3 separate regions of the Homo sapiens genome follow, and regions 2 and 3 are each linked to region 1. Evidence: promoter capture Hi-C in 16 types of primary human blood cells and fetal thymus (Javierre and others, 2016). All regions are on one chromosome and are shown on one strand. The core of a region is centred on a gene start or on the middle of the fragment in contact, and the rest is flanking DNA. Distances in the headings are between cores, read along the strand shown. Region 1 holds the start of AGPS (alkylglycerone phosphate synthase). Region 2 has its middle 43 kb from the start of MIR4444-1. Region 3 overlaps LOC105373760 (a long non-coding RNA gene).

What was found. Contacts are between HindIII fragments. The CHiCAGO score rates a contact against its expected background, and 5 or more counts as called.
Region 2: a contact is called between a fragment that was not itself captured here and the fragment with the promoter of AGPS in region 1, in 3 of 17 cell types (monocytes, M0 macrophages and neutrophils). The highest score is 9.1, in monocytes.
Region 3: a fragment that was not itself captured here is called in contact with the fragment with the promoter of AGPS in region 1 in 2 of 17 cell types (monocytes and neutrophils); the score reaches 6.0 in monocytes.

What each region holds. Positions count from the first base shown.
Region 1 is chr2:177,389,921-177,394,107 of GRCh38, forward strand. It overlaps AGPS (alkylglycerone phosphate synthase), which reads left to right and starts at 2,853. Exons shown (of 20, transcript NM_003659.4): 1 at 2,853-3,129. The coding sequence starts at 2,870. LOC100130691 (Putative uncharacterized protein FLJ44553) reads right to left here and starts at 2,771. Exons shown (of 9, transcript NR_026966.1): 1 at 2,653-2,771. RefSeq lists a silencer at 2,853-3,072. The HindIII fragment of the contact is 4,249 bases long and covers 1,347-4,187 here.
Region 2 is chr2:177,167,787-177,172,581 of GRCh38, forward strand. No RefSeq gene overlaps it. Among named protein-coding and RNA genes, the nearest start is that of MIR4444-1, 43 kb to the right of the region's middle. RefSeq lists enhancers at 535-829, 1,714-2,913, 2,492-2,661. The HindIII fragment of the contact is 898 bases long and covers 1,276-2,173 here.
Region 3 is chr2:177,142,286-177,146,885 of GRCh38, forward strand. The region is part of intron 1 of LOC105373760 (a long non-coding RNA gene); the gene reads right to left. Among named protein-coding and RNA genes, the nearest start is that of MIR4444-1, 68 kb to the right of the region's middle. The HindIII fragment of the contact is 3,583 bases long and covers 940-4,522 here.

The DNA.
Region 1 (4,187 bases), core at 1,603-4,102:
GATTCAAAGTGACGAGTCACTTATAAATTAAGTATAAGTCTCAGATTCTTATGTGGGATATGAACTCTGTCTTCATGGAGTTTATGGCCTACTGGGAGTAACAGACATGAGTAAATGAAAAGTTAATTAACATATAAAGGCAGTATATGATAAATGATAAGCAAGAGGATAAATTCTCAGGGAAAGAATAGATTTAAGAGACACAGAGGATAATGTACTGTTGATGTACTTAATATAAAAAGCAAAAGAGGAAAAGGCTGAAAATAACCCTGAGGTTGATGGAACAGGATGACAGTGGCACTTTGGTGGACTATAGGGAAGCATAAAAGGGAGGGGAAAATGAGCTCAGTTTCTACCCCATTCAAGGAAGCACATGGAGAATCACGGGATTACATTCTTGCAAAAACAAAAAATGACCTACTGTATCAAAGGCTACAGGACATCTCAATTCAATAACTGATAGGTCTAGACAGCTGTTATCATATTTCTCTGCAACAACTTCATCAGTGACATCTGAGATTGGATTCTAAAGATACAGGAGGAAGTAAAACATGAGGAAATGGAGGTAATGCCTAGATGAACTGAGGGGATAGTATACAGGAATAATTCTTGGCTCATTAATTATTGGATTGAGCCACCTCCATCTATCTGTTTTGGAGACTGCTTTATCAGGTCAGAGGAGATGAGTGTGACTTTCTTCAGATTGTGCAAGACAAAAAGAACACCATTAGAATTATGTACATGACACTGGAAGGCAAAGTGGGTTTTAAAATTTTAAAATAAGAGACAATTCCTCTAATTGACAACAAAATCAAGTAAAGGAAAGGAAGCTAGGATTTTTCTTCTGTTATCAAACATGTAGGAGCATATAGCCACTTTTCTGGTCATCAGTTGAATACTGAAAATGTCAATCAGGTGCAACTTCTTTGTTGTGAGGGTAGGCAACAAAGTATGCAAAAGCCAGAAACTAGTGGCTTGCAGGCTTTGATATTTAATTTTACAAGATCAACTAAAGATTCTCTTTTTTCAGTCATAAATACCTAGGAAAGTGCTATATGTGTTTCATGTTCTTGCACCTCATGAATGAGGTCGTGATAGCTGTGGTGGCAATCTCTGAAATTCTTCCCAGAACTCAATCCTTAAGAACCAGGAGTATAGTTTATAATTAAAGTGAAAATTTATTTTAGAAAGTTCAATTTTAGAATCTATAAAATAAAAAACAAAAACCCCAAGCCTACGTAAGTAATTTTAACGTAAAATGTTAATGGCCCCAAACTCTAATGGTGGAATAAGGACAATAACATGAAGTATATGATATTTGAGATAAAATATAGCTATTTAAGAAAAGCTTCTTACTCTCCTTGAGCCTTCATCTATAAAATAAGGATAATAAAACTGTGTCATTGTGTTACTGCAAAGATTGATTAAATAGATACGTATAAGATGCCTAGGTTATGGCCATTTTTTATATTTAACAAATTCCTAATTCTTTCTTGTTTCTACAACTGTACTAAATTATTTTAATAGCTGCAAAAGTATTTTAACATATTGACTAACCATTTCTCTGTTGCTAGACATTTGGACTGTTTTCAATGGTTTGGTATCTCTTCGTATATAAATTTCAGAAGACATTCGGACCTCCTGTAAAGGCCAGGTAATACATATTTTGGGGCTTCTGGGACCACATAAGGTCTCTGTTGCATATTCTTTTAAAAAATTTCTTGTTTTCTTTTAACAACCCTTCTCAAATACAAAAACCATTAGCATGAGGGCTGTGTAAAAACAGGCCACAGACTAGAGCTGGCCCTCCAACAGCAATTTGCTTAGCCCTTAATTGAGAGTTTTTAACCAGTCTGGGCCTCTTTGGAAGTTCACTCTAAAGGCATAATCTCAATTTTAGAAGCTGGCAACACCCAAGAGAGCAATTGTTAGTCTCTAGTCCCATGGATGTGGTGTTCTTCAGATTCCTCTGCCAATATTTTTCTTGTTAGGAAAGCATGATGTGAAAGTGGTGACAGGATGGAGAATGACAATGGCCAGTGTATGTGAGTTTTTGTCTAAGCTAATTCTTATGCAAGACACCGGCTGAAACAGGTGAGGAGCACTTTTCACGTGCTATCTTCCAGAAATGAATTCAATCTGTAAATAACTGAGATGTCTTCACAGCTCTTGGGTAATTTTTGTCTGTAGCAATAAGAAACTTTATCTCTATTAAAGTTAGGAAGGGGTTAGGATCCAGTAATGAATGAAATGAGAACTTAAGTTGCAACTCAGTTTCTGTACTTACTTGTGATCTAGCATTAAACACAGTGCCAGGCACGAAATAGGTGGTGAGAAATAAGAAAATGATAGAGCTATTTGCTCTAATGGTTAGAGGCAATGATGGTCAGCTTTGAGTTACTTTGGTGACCCCGCAGGGAGGAAGAGCACAGGTGGAACATTAGAATCTCTTTCAGGAAAAGGATGCCGCTGGATCCATCAGGTCCAGTAGCACTGCCCATTTCTCCTGCTCCAAGGCATCTGCCCTCGAAAGCCCCCAGGCCACACCCGAGGACACCACCCAGGGTTCTAGGACACCTCGAGGGCGGACGTGGTTTGGCTCTCGGTCCAGCTGGACCGGGCTGGGCCAACCGGGAGTCAGCTCGAACTCACCTGCTTGGCAGGTGCGCGCTTCCCGAGGCGTGACAAGGGAGCGCCGGCGCGGTGGGTGGGGGGCAGAGAATGTGAAGCTCCAGACGCATGGCACCCGCCGCCAAGTCGCCGCGGTGGCTGCCGGGATGCGCCGCAGCGAATGGTCGCGCCGGGCGCCGCTCTGAGTGACCTTTCACCCGCGCCCAGCGGTTCCGGGCGGCAGCACAAGGCGGTAGCCATGGCGGAGGCGGCGGCTGCAGCGGGTGGGACTGGCTTGGGCGCGGGCGCGAGCTACGGGTCTGCAGCGGACCGGGACCGGGACCCGGACCCGGACCGCGCCGGGCGGAGGCTGCGGGTTCTCTCTGGCCATCTGCTGGGCCGGCCCCGGGAGGCTCTGAGTACCAATGAGTGCAAAGCGCGGAGAGCCGCGTCGGCGGCCACGGCAGCGCCCACGGCCACTCCCGCCGCGCAGGAGTCGGGCACCATCCCAAAGAAGCGGTGAGTAGCGGTATGTGGAAGGAGTTAGCGTCGAGGGACCAGGCCGGGCCTGTGCTGCAGGAGGGCACAGGCGAGGTGGGAAGGGAAGTGACACGGGTGGGCGGAAGGCATCCCGGTCCCTGAAAGTAGGGACCCACCTCTCTTTCGAGAGAGTGGACTAGACCCTGGATTCTGTCAGGAAGGGGGCGGGATGGGATGGTGGATTTTGGTCACTATGTGAGGGTAACAGGCTTGAAGAACTCTCGTTGGAGAAGGGTTTAAAGGATTCCTTTTTCCTGAGCTTTTAGTGCCAGGAATTCATTTTTTATCTTGAATTAATACTTTTGGTGCTGAGGTCTTGGAATGGGTAGCAGAGGTTCTATTTTTCTCCGAGGAGATATAAATTTGTACTAGATGATAGATCATAGGAATCTCTCTCATTCGCGAAAGCCTGCTGTGGGGGAAACTGGTGGTGCCCTGGAAAAAGGTGCTGACTGGTTTCTGTGGGGTAAGTTCCACTTGCTTAGGATCAAGATGTATTGACTTTGAGGGAGGAAACCGATGAATGGTAAGAAGCCATAAACTGCAAACACTAGCTAGTGGTTTAAGGTGTGGTGGTATAGCTACTGAGCTCTGTGTAACCAGAAGCTAAAAGACAAGAGTCTAACCGATGAGGGATGTTTGTAAGAGATCTTGACTTTCGATGTTTTTGGAGAAATCTTTTTTTTTTTTTTTGTATTTTTAGTAGAGACAGGGTTTCACCGTGTTAGCCAGGATGGTCTCGATCTCCTCAATCTCTGATGAAGGCTATTAGGAGAAGCTACTTTCTGACGTGTGGCTTTGTCACCGTGGATAAATGGATAAACCGAGAGTGAAAAAAATAAGTAGCTAATGTTTAAAGTGTACTTTTAAGTGTGCCAAAGTGTGCTAAATCCTTTGTTTCTTCCCAAGCTATGAGGTATGTGCGGTTTTCTCCCATTTTACAGATGAATAAATTAAGTCTGCTGGAGTCTTAGCAGATATGCTGTGTGACAGGTTAGAATTTGAAAGCACATCAAATTGACTTCATGGCCAAGTTC
Region 2 (4,795 bases), core at 475-2,974, 220 kb before region 1:
TAGAACGACTCATTTGTCTATAGATTTGGAAAATGTCATAGGGTCGAGTGAAGATATTTGCCAAATTGAAGGAGGTAAGGACATATTTAGAGCCTCTGGGAAAGATGACAGATCTCAAGGACTAAGATTTGAATGCCGGAACAAAGCAGAATAGAAAAAGACTAGAGTTGTGTTTTCAAAAGAATAGGGAATATTTCGTAGACTTAGAAGGAGCTAGAGGTGGTAGCCTGAACTTTAGGAATAGGAATTCTTAGTGATTTGCCTGCAGTGTAGTAGATGTCAATGACTGAAGGATGACTGAGGATCTTAAGAAAGATGTGGCTTCTTCTTTCTCAGAAAAGCCACAGGGAGTGACCCCTGCAAATCCTTCCGAGTATAAGGTGTACACCCAGTGACAGCCTTCCTCACAGGACATAGTTATCACAGCATTGATGTGATCATTCCTCTCTTAATTAGGATTCAGTGCAGATGCAATTGGCTGAAAACCCAAAATAACAGTGGCTTAGGTAAGATAGAAATTATAGTCATTATTGGGATTATCCACACATTCTGGTTCTCCTGCTTTTAGGGCAAATAGACTACTTGCCTACCTTTTTGAAGTTAGATATGGTATGTGACTTGCATTAGTCAGCAAAATGGCATGTGTTATTTTCAGTTCCAAGCCTTATCAGTATACAATTCACTACATTCCTTTTGTCTTTGTCAGCAATGGTGGAAGCATTGGTTGACATGGACACTGTCAGCCTGGCTTTCTGAGTACCCACAATGAGCAGAGTCCCCCTGCTGACCAGCAATGGACATGTGGTGTGATCAAGAATAAACTTGCGCTGGGCATGGTGGCTCACGCCTGTAATCCCAGCACTTTGGGAGTCCAAGGCAGGCAGATCACAAGGTCAGGAGTTCGAGACCGGCCTAACCAACATGATGAAACCCCATCTCTACTAAATATACAAAAATTAGCCAGGTGTGGTGGCGCGTGCCTGTAATCCCAGCTACTCAGGAGGCTGAGGCAGGAGAATCACTTGGAGGAGGTTGCAGTGAGCTGAGATCACACTACTGCACTCCAGCCTGGGCAGCAGAGTGAGACTCCATCTCAAAAAAAAAAATAGAATAAACTTGTTGTTTTGAGTCACGGGTTAAATTTCTTTCTCACACAAAAGTCTGAGTGGTGGGGCTAGGACTGATACAGTGATTCATGGTTTGAGGGACCCAAGGTCCTCTGTCTTGCTGTTCAGCTGTGCTTGGCATGCTCATGCTTCATGGTTACAGCACTCAAGCTTTAAGCAGCAGGAAGCAGGAAGGCATGGAGAGGCAAAGGGTGTGCTGCACGTCAAGGAAGGCTCCCAGAAGCTCTCTTCCACTTGGAAACCTTTGGCCAGAACTTGGTCCCATGGCTGCACCTATAGTTGCAAGGGAAAGGGAATCAACGAAGACTGGGTGAGGCCAGCCAAAAATTGTGGGTTATTTGACCACATAAAGGGACCCGGAGGACTGCATTCTGCCTTAACTCTCAAGAACTCCTTGTATAAATGTGGAGATGATAGGATTGCACTGTCCCTCCCCATTTTTCATAAAAATAAAGAAGTAGTGAGAATATTGATCAATGTGGATGATGAGAGATTGAGGCCACCCTAACTAATTTAGTTGTTGGAAGGGGGATTTTTTTCTTCCCCAACACCTCCGTTGGTAAGAGATTATAAGACAACCATCTTCATTATGACCTTCAACAAGATTTGAAATGGACTCTTTGTAGTCATTTCATGTACTTGCTCATCTGGCTACTTTTAAAGAAACAAATTCAAATTTCTATTATCTGCTATGATATATCATTAACAGCCCCCAAAATACAAGATACAGAGATAATAGAACGGCTGACATAATCACATTTAAGTGAGTTTGGCTGTACATTCATTGTTTCTTGCAAAGACCAGAGCTACAGAAAAATAGATCAATGTGATTAAGTCTAACATTGGGGAATTGTTTCTCCATTGTGTCTGAGCTGAGGCTGGCAGCAGGAATTAGTGCTGCTACCTTTAAAGGGTAGACCACGATTGATCTGGTTCCCAAGGCAGTCATTGAACAGACGTGGTGAAACTGGTCACAGCAGAGCTACATTACACGCAGGAAGTGCCCTACTGTTAAAAGAGTGTGCCCAGTTCAAAGCAAAGTGAAAAGCTTTTTGTTTGTTTTAGTTTCACATCTAAGTTCATTTTTGGTCACCATTCCTTAAATAGAATTTTTTTTCATCATCAAGCATGGGTCTTAAGCATTTTTGGTGAGCACTACACATAGACCAGGAAGGAAATAGAATCCGACACGCCAAGGACTTATGGCCCAAGATGTGGAGAGGAGAAAGGCTGACCGCTGAGTATATGGCAACTTTTGTACCAAAATTTACCATTAAAAATGCAAATCAAAAGAGAACCTGAGGCAGGCAGTGGCACAGTGGCACTGTGCTCTCCCTCTCTTTTCCTGGACCTCTGCAATACTTCTTTGCCTGCTTCCTCCCTTTATTTGTATAGTGGAAAATCTGTTGTCCATTGCTGGAGTTCAAGCATGCCTGGGCATGTTTGTCAAACTGGCAGGGCAGGCCTTGCAGAGGCCTCGAGGGGCCCTTGACAATGGACTCAGACTGGGTGTGCTACTTAAACATATCCAGACAAGTCAGGCAAATGAGTAGGGAGTGGAGGAACAGGGTATGTGTGAGATGTGGAAAAGTGTCCCAACAAAAAAAAAAATCACTCTTGGGGAAGAGGGAGAACCTCAGCTGCATGACATGAGGACTGATTTATTTTCACCTTTCAAAATCATTCTTTTTTTTTTTTTTTCAGTCCTAGGAAATTGGGTCAGAATCTGCGTATCTAATGGGATCGTTACTGTTACACTTGTAAGATTTGGAATCCGTTCAAAAAACAAGCCAGAAACAAGCCTTTGTATACGTTAGGAAAAGATGCCCTGCATTAGAGCCCGGCCAAGGGAGAGATGGGGGCAGGTAACTGCAGTCCAAAACTGAGCAGCCACTCCTAGAAGCTCTGCTTGAAATTCATGCTGTTAAGACAAGCGACCAAAAGTATTTAACTCCTGCATTGACCTAGGCACCTCTCCTCCCAGCAGTTACCTGGGAAAGATACTCAGAATCAATGAGAAATGGGAAATCAAAGAACCTGCTATGGACTGAATTGTATCCCCTCCAAAATGCATATCTTGAAGCCCGAACCCCAGTGTGATGGTATTTGGAGAGGTGACCTTTGGGAGGTATTAAATAAAATTTACATGAGGCCATTGGTTTGGACTTGTTGCCAGTAAACTGAGTTTTTTCCCCACTTTGTATTGATGGCAAAGGAAGAATGTCCAGTTGGAAAAGGCAATCAGGTTTTATTCACTGGCCAAGAAGGAAGAAGGGGAGGCTCTCGCTCTAAACGCCCCTTCTCCCTGAACAGTAGAAGTTATGGGTACTTTAGGGACTGGGTATAGGGAGGGAGAGGGATGTTAGCATGTGCAGGGTGGGACTCCAGACACACAGGCTTAATTCAAAAACATACATCTTCATACAATGCATGTACAGAAAATGGAAGAGATTTTTCTTTTAGGGGAGGGATTTTAGCATTATAATGATATGTTAATGATCTGAAGGCAACTAGGGATCACTGTTGCAGTTTGCGCTGGTTAGCAGGTCTTATCTCCTTCTGGTATCTTGCCAGGGGTCAAAAAGCTCTGGCGCCATTCTGGCCTGTCTGGTTTCTTTAAGCAGCTGTGCCTATAAATAAAGCGACTAAAGGAAAGCATTTAAAAGAGGAACTTTCCCAGTTATTTCATCAGGGCTGCCCCAGTAACAGACAGCTTCTATGCCAGGCCCCAAAAGGCTAGACCAAAATGGAGTCACTCATGCCACATAATCAAACTAAAACTTTAAGGAAGCAGGGAAAACCCCAAACAGAGTGTTATCCCGAAAACAGAAGGTTCACAGCTACCAATCAGAAAGGCCCCAGTCAACCTGAGCTGGCAAGAAAAGGAAGTTCCCTCTACTTTAACCCTTACAAGGAAAGGTAACCTGATGAAGTAACCTGATGTTAACCATTCCTCTTTCTTAAAAATTCTTGTTTGGCTGGGCGCAGCGACTGATGCCTGTAATCCCAGCACTTTGGGAGGCCAAGGTTGGAGGATCACTTGACTGCAGGAATTTGAGACCAGCCTGAGCAACAGCACGAAACTCTGTCTTTATTATTTTTTGAAAAGTATATTTAAAATTTTTTTAAATCATTGTTTCCTTGTTCCCACCTTACAAAAATAAACTGCTCTGTCATGCCCAGCAGAGTGCCTTTTCTAAATTGTTAAATGAGATGCTCTCTTATTTGTGAATTGCTAATAAAAGCCAATCTGATCTTCAAACTAAATTTGTTGTAACTTTGTCTTTTGGCAGAGGTGATGAGGGTTTAGATGATGTCATGATAGTGGGGCCCTCATAATGGGATAAGTGCCCTTATGAGGGAACAGCAGAGAACTTGCTTCCTCCCCACCCCACCCCAGCCCCCATGTAAGGGTACAGGGAGAAGGTGGCTTTGCACTAGACAGGAAAAGAGCCCTCACCAGGGAACCAAATCAGCTGTCTCCTTGATGGCTTGGCTATCCCAGCCTCCAGAATTGTGAGAAACAAATTCCTATTGTCTAAGTCACCCAGCCTGTGGTATTTTGTTATGGCATCCCTAGCTGACTAAGCCAGAACCATACACCTAAAATCCCAATACAGAGATCTCTGGCTAATAGGCCAAAGTACACAATTTATACTCTAAAGGGG
Region 3 (4,600 bases), core at 1,481-3,980, 250 kb before region 1:
TTTCTATTTTTTTATTAGCTGGTTATTTCTTAATTGAGAGTGTTCTAAATAAAACCTGATATTAAATACAATATAATTATTTCAGTTCCAAAATACATCCAGTATACCCAGTAAATATGGCTTTAGTAAGAAATTGTGAGAAAAGAATCCCACTCTAATTGATTCTCACCTATGTATCAAATATTATTTTGTTCTATTCTTCAATCATTATTTTTTCTTTTTTTTTTAGCTGGGCAGCTCCCTAAACCAGAATAGGTTCAGAGCAACTCCTGGTCATCATTTTTTATTTGCAATATAAAAACTGTTATATATTATATTAATTATAATTTATAATTATAAATTATAATATAATATATTAACTGTTCTAATAACCCATTTGTCACTATAAATAGCCTTTGAGTTTTTCTTCCATTCCAAAAAGGAGTAAAAGGTCCCCCAAACCAATTGATTTAACACCAAATTTAAATAAACCCAAAGACCCTCTCACTTTTCACATTGAGTAGAACAAGGTCAGACTGGGCATCTTCCAAATGTAAAGGCTTAATTGGACTAATTCTTTCATGATAATAATGTATATTTAAGATAGCCACTAAAAATTGTCAATGCTAATTTAGTAGATCAATTCCATTAAATGCTTTGAACTTTTCACCACTTGCTAATCTCATCTATTACAGCTGCTGTTTTTGTTGAAAATCTAAGCTATAACTTAATATCAAATTACAACATTTCTAGGCAGACCTAAAAAATACTTTCTTATATGTGAAATATAACCTAAAAAGACTGTAAGTTGTGTAAATTGTAAGATTCTAGCCATAAAATTTCCTGCAGTCAAAATGCAGAAAGATCTTATCAATCTATTGGCAATTGACATTATGGTAAGAAGCTTATGGGTTTTTTTTTAACATCTTAGAAATAAATGTTTTATTGTATCTAAAATAAAGCTTTAACATTTGTGATTATTGATTGTAGACCCACCTTTATACACTAAATGGTTCAGACTGTAACATCAAACATAATGTAATTTAGGTAATACTTCAACTCACGTCAGTAGAAATGCCAAGGTTGTGCTCAACATTTAGGTGAACAATGTAAGGAATATGCTCATTAATGTAAAAAATAATATATTTGTTATTTAGCTAATGAAGAATTTTGAGACCCCAAACCACTATCGAATATCCAGCATGCCTTATTTGTCTGGAACTAGACTTCTGAGGCTATTTTTATTCCCTGTGATTTACCACCAGTATCCTCTGGGTGATAGTTGAGGAAACAGATGCTGGGAATCTCTCTGCTCAGTTCCTGAGAGGAGAGTTCTGACTCACAGCCTTGCCAGCTCCCTGCTTTGTACTCACATAAGCAAAGGGTGGTGAAGTAAAACGTAAATGACTGCCTGATTTCCAGTCTCTCATTGCCAGTTTCCTCAAAGTTTCCACTTACGCATTTGCCTCCCTTACCAATTTCGTTTGAAGTTCCTTTTCCAAAATCCTGAACGGCATGTTCCCAGGATACATTTACTTTTTCAAAAAAATTCATTCAGTGGGGATTTTCCAACTGAAATTAAAAAAAAAAAAAAGGAAGACTGGAGAGGGGGCATTCTTTTTTTTCGGCTTTTTCATTTACTGTCAATTGATTGTATTGATATCTGCAGAAGGAAGATGTAGATTTTTTTAAAAAAATTGTAAAATGTTCCCCTCTAAGCTCTAAGCACATTTTTCTTATGGAAAATCATAAACCTTCCTAAAAGTTTCCTGTATTCTGTTATTTATTGTGAAAGGATTTAAACTAACATAGATATGCTTCCATTTGGAGATTATACTTAAATTGTTAGTTTAAAAAAATTAATCTTTATTAAATGTCCACAAGGTATAGAGCATTCTTCTTTCTTTGTGCGTCTAGGCTGACAAAAATACACAGGGGGAAGAAATCTATGAAGTTTAAATACCTTTTATAATGAATTTAAAACAGAAGCATACGCCACATTATAGACTGAGAATTCAATTTCACAAGGCAGCAGTTTCTCTTAAAACTATTATTTTAGGTCGGGCGCGGTGTCACGCCCTGTAATCCCAGCACTTTGGGAGGTCAAGGAGGGTGGATCATGACATCAGGAGTTCGAGACCAGCCTGACCGTCATGGTGAAACCCGTCTCTACTAAAAATACGAAAATTAGCCAGATGTGGTGGCACGCACCTGTAATCCCAGCTACTCAGGAGGCTGAGGCAGGAGAATCACTTGAACCTGGGAGGAGGAGATTGTGGTGAGCCAAGATCCTGCCCCTGCACTCCAGTCTAGGTGACAGAGCAAGACTCTTTTTAAAAAAAAAAAAGCTATTATTTTACAGAGAAATTAAATTCACTGGCCAGAGTATGTTTTTACAAAGTTTTTCTTTAAAAACCTACCTTTACTTTATTGAAAACAATGGGACCTATATGGATAATTTTCTTTTTTTTTTTTTTTAGCTGGAGTTTCGCTCTTGTTGCCCAGGCTGGGAGAGCAATGGCGTGATCTCAGCTCACTGCAACCTCTGCCTCCTGGGTTCAAGCGATTCTCCTACCTCAGCCTCCCGAGTAGCTGTGATTACAGGCATGCACCACCACGCCTGGCTAATTTTGTATATTTAGTAGAGACAGGGTTTCTCCATATTGGTCAAGCTGGTCTCCAACTCCCGACCTCAGGTGATCCCCCGCCTCAGCCTCCCAAAGTTCTGGGATTACAGGAGTGAGCCACCACGCCTGGCCAATAATTTTCTAAGTGTAATCTTATGTGAGTAAATTAAATTTCCTTATCAAATGCCACTGAACTACCTGAATGTTTGCTTATTAATCCCATAATTTAGTGTGGCTTAACAATAGCCTGGATAATTGATTTAGACTATTTTTATATTAGGAAAACTTGGCAATTGTTATTGCATTTCAGATAAAAAGAGTTTAGGTTGACAAGTTAAGTCTCACAGCATCACCGCGACACCTTCTGGAAGTATATCTATGTGAGACGGAACAAGTCAACCTACTACTAATCCAACAGAAATCTGTCTGGGAGAAGGGGAGTGAGGAAAGGTGTCGGTTTGTTAGCATGTAGAGCAAGCAGCCTACTAAAGACTAAATTATTGCTTTCCATCACAAAGACACTTACCCATCCTCAAGTTGACCACCATCTTGTTCTCTGTGAAAGACCTGGCTGGTAGATTGGGCCGCCTCACTAGCATCAAATAAATATTCCTTACCAGCCACAAAGGGAAAATATATTGAGCCAGATTAGTAACATTCTAATAGAAAATGTGGCATTTTGAATGAGGAAAACTACTTCAGTGAAAAAATTTGGTAAGATGCCCACAATGAGCAAAGAACCTTAAAATGCAAGAGATTCTCCAGTGGAAAATGGCCTAATCTTTATGAACTAACTGCTACACAAAAGGCAAAAAGTCAACACAAAAATTGACATTTAAAAAATCTATTCGCCAATAATATTTTGCAAAGATATTATACACACACGCACGCACACACACACACACACACACACACACAGTAAAGGAAATATAACTGATGAATGATGCTGAACTACTTTTGTAGCTGTTTAACAGTTACAATCTTGGGGTCTATGTATGCACAAAAACACCAAGTAACCAAATGATTCAGTTAGACATTAAGCAAAGAAAGTCAGTGAAACTTGCTGTATGATCTGAACAACTATTTGGGCACCCAGGCAAAGAGGTAAATTCACCACTTATATATAAATGAAAAAGACAGGGTCAGTAATATGCTTGTTGTGATGCAGATTAGGGAAGGGTAAAAAATGTCTTAAATGAACACTTCAATTCTGGTATATGATTACAAAACTAAAATCCCTGCAGTATACACAAATACAATTGCCTAACTTCAAAGTCCCAGGAAGCACCCACAAGGAAAAAACACACTCTGATTTTAATGTCTTCCTGATCCCCTCAAATGGCCTAATATGTATAATATTGAAAGTCAATTCTGTAGCTTCTCAAGGGTTAAATTCTTTGTTGCAAATAACTCTAAAAAAGTATCCCAGTAAGAATCAGGCTTAGACTAGTTCAGCAAGAGGAACCGTTCCATAATGAGGCTTGGCCTGGACCAGTCCCAGGAGAATTAATTTTGTGCCGTAGAACACCTAGATAAATTAGTTTTGCTTTAAATATCGAGTCCTAAAAGAGTTAAAAGAGGGAGAATATCAATCAATAATTTTTAGATTAACTACTTTGTATATGACAAAACAAAATTAACTTTGGCATTATAACCACTTTCTCTCGCATTTCTGATAAGCCCCAAGTTTAAAATAAGTAATTAGAGATTTAAAAACCAACCGAATATGTGCATTTGTTTCTTGTTACAAAATACTAATTCACTGCCTAGTTTGTAAAAAAAAAAAAATTACTCATACATTTTGCAAAATTACAAATATTGTTATTTTTATTAAAATAATCACACCTGAGAAGAATTCAGAAAATATGTAGACAAATTCCTGTAGGGTTTTTTTCATGGAATTGCTAAAGGAATTAAGCTTTAAAATTAAGTGAAAAATAATATTTCAGTTAACAAAGTTAGGTTCTTGAAATTATATTTTCATTGATTAATTC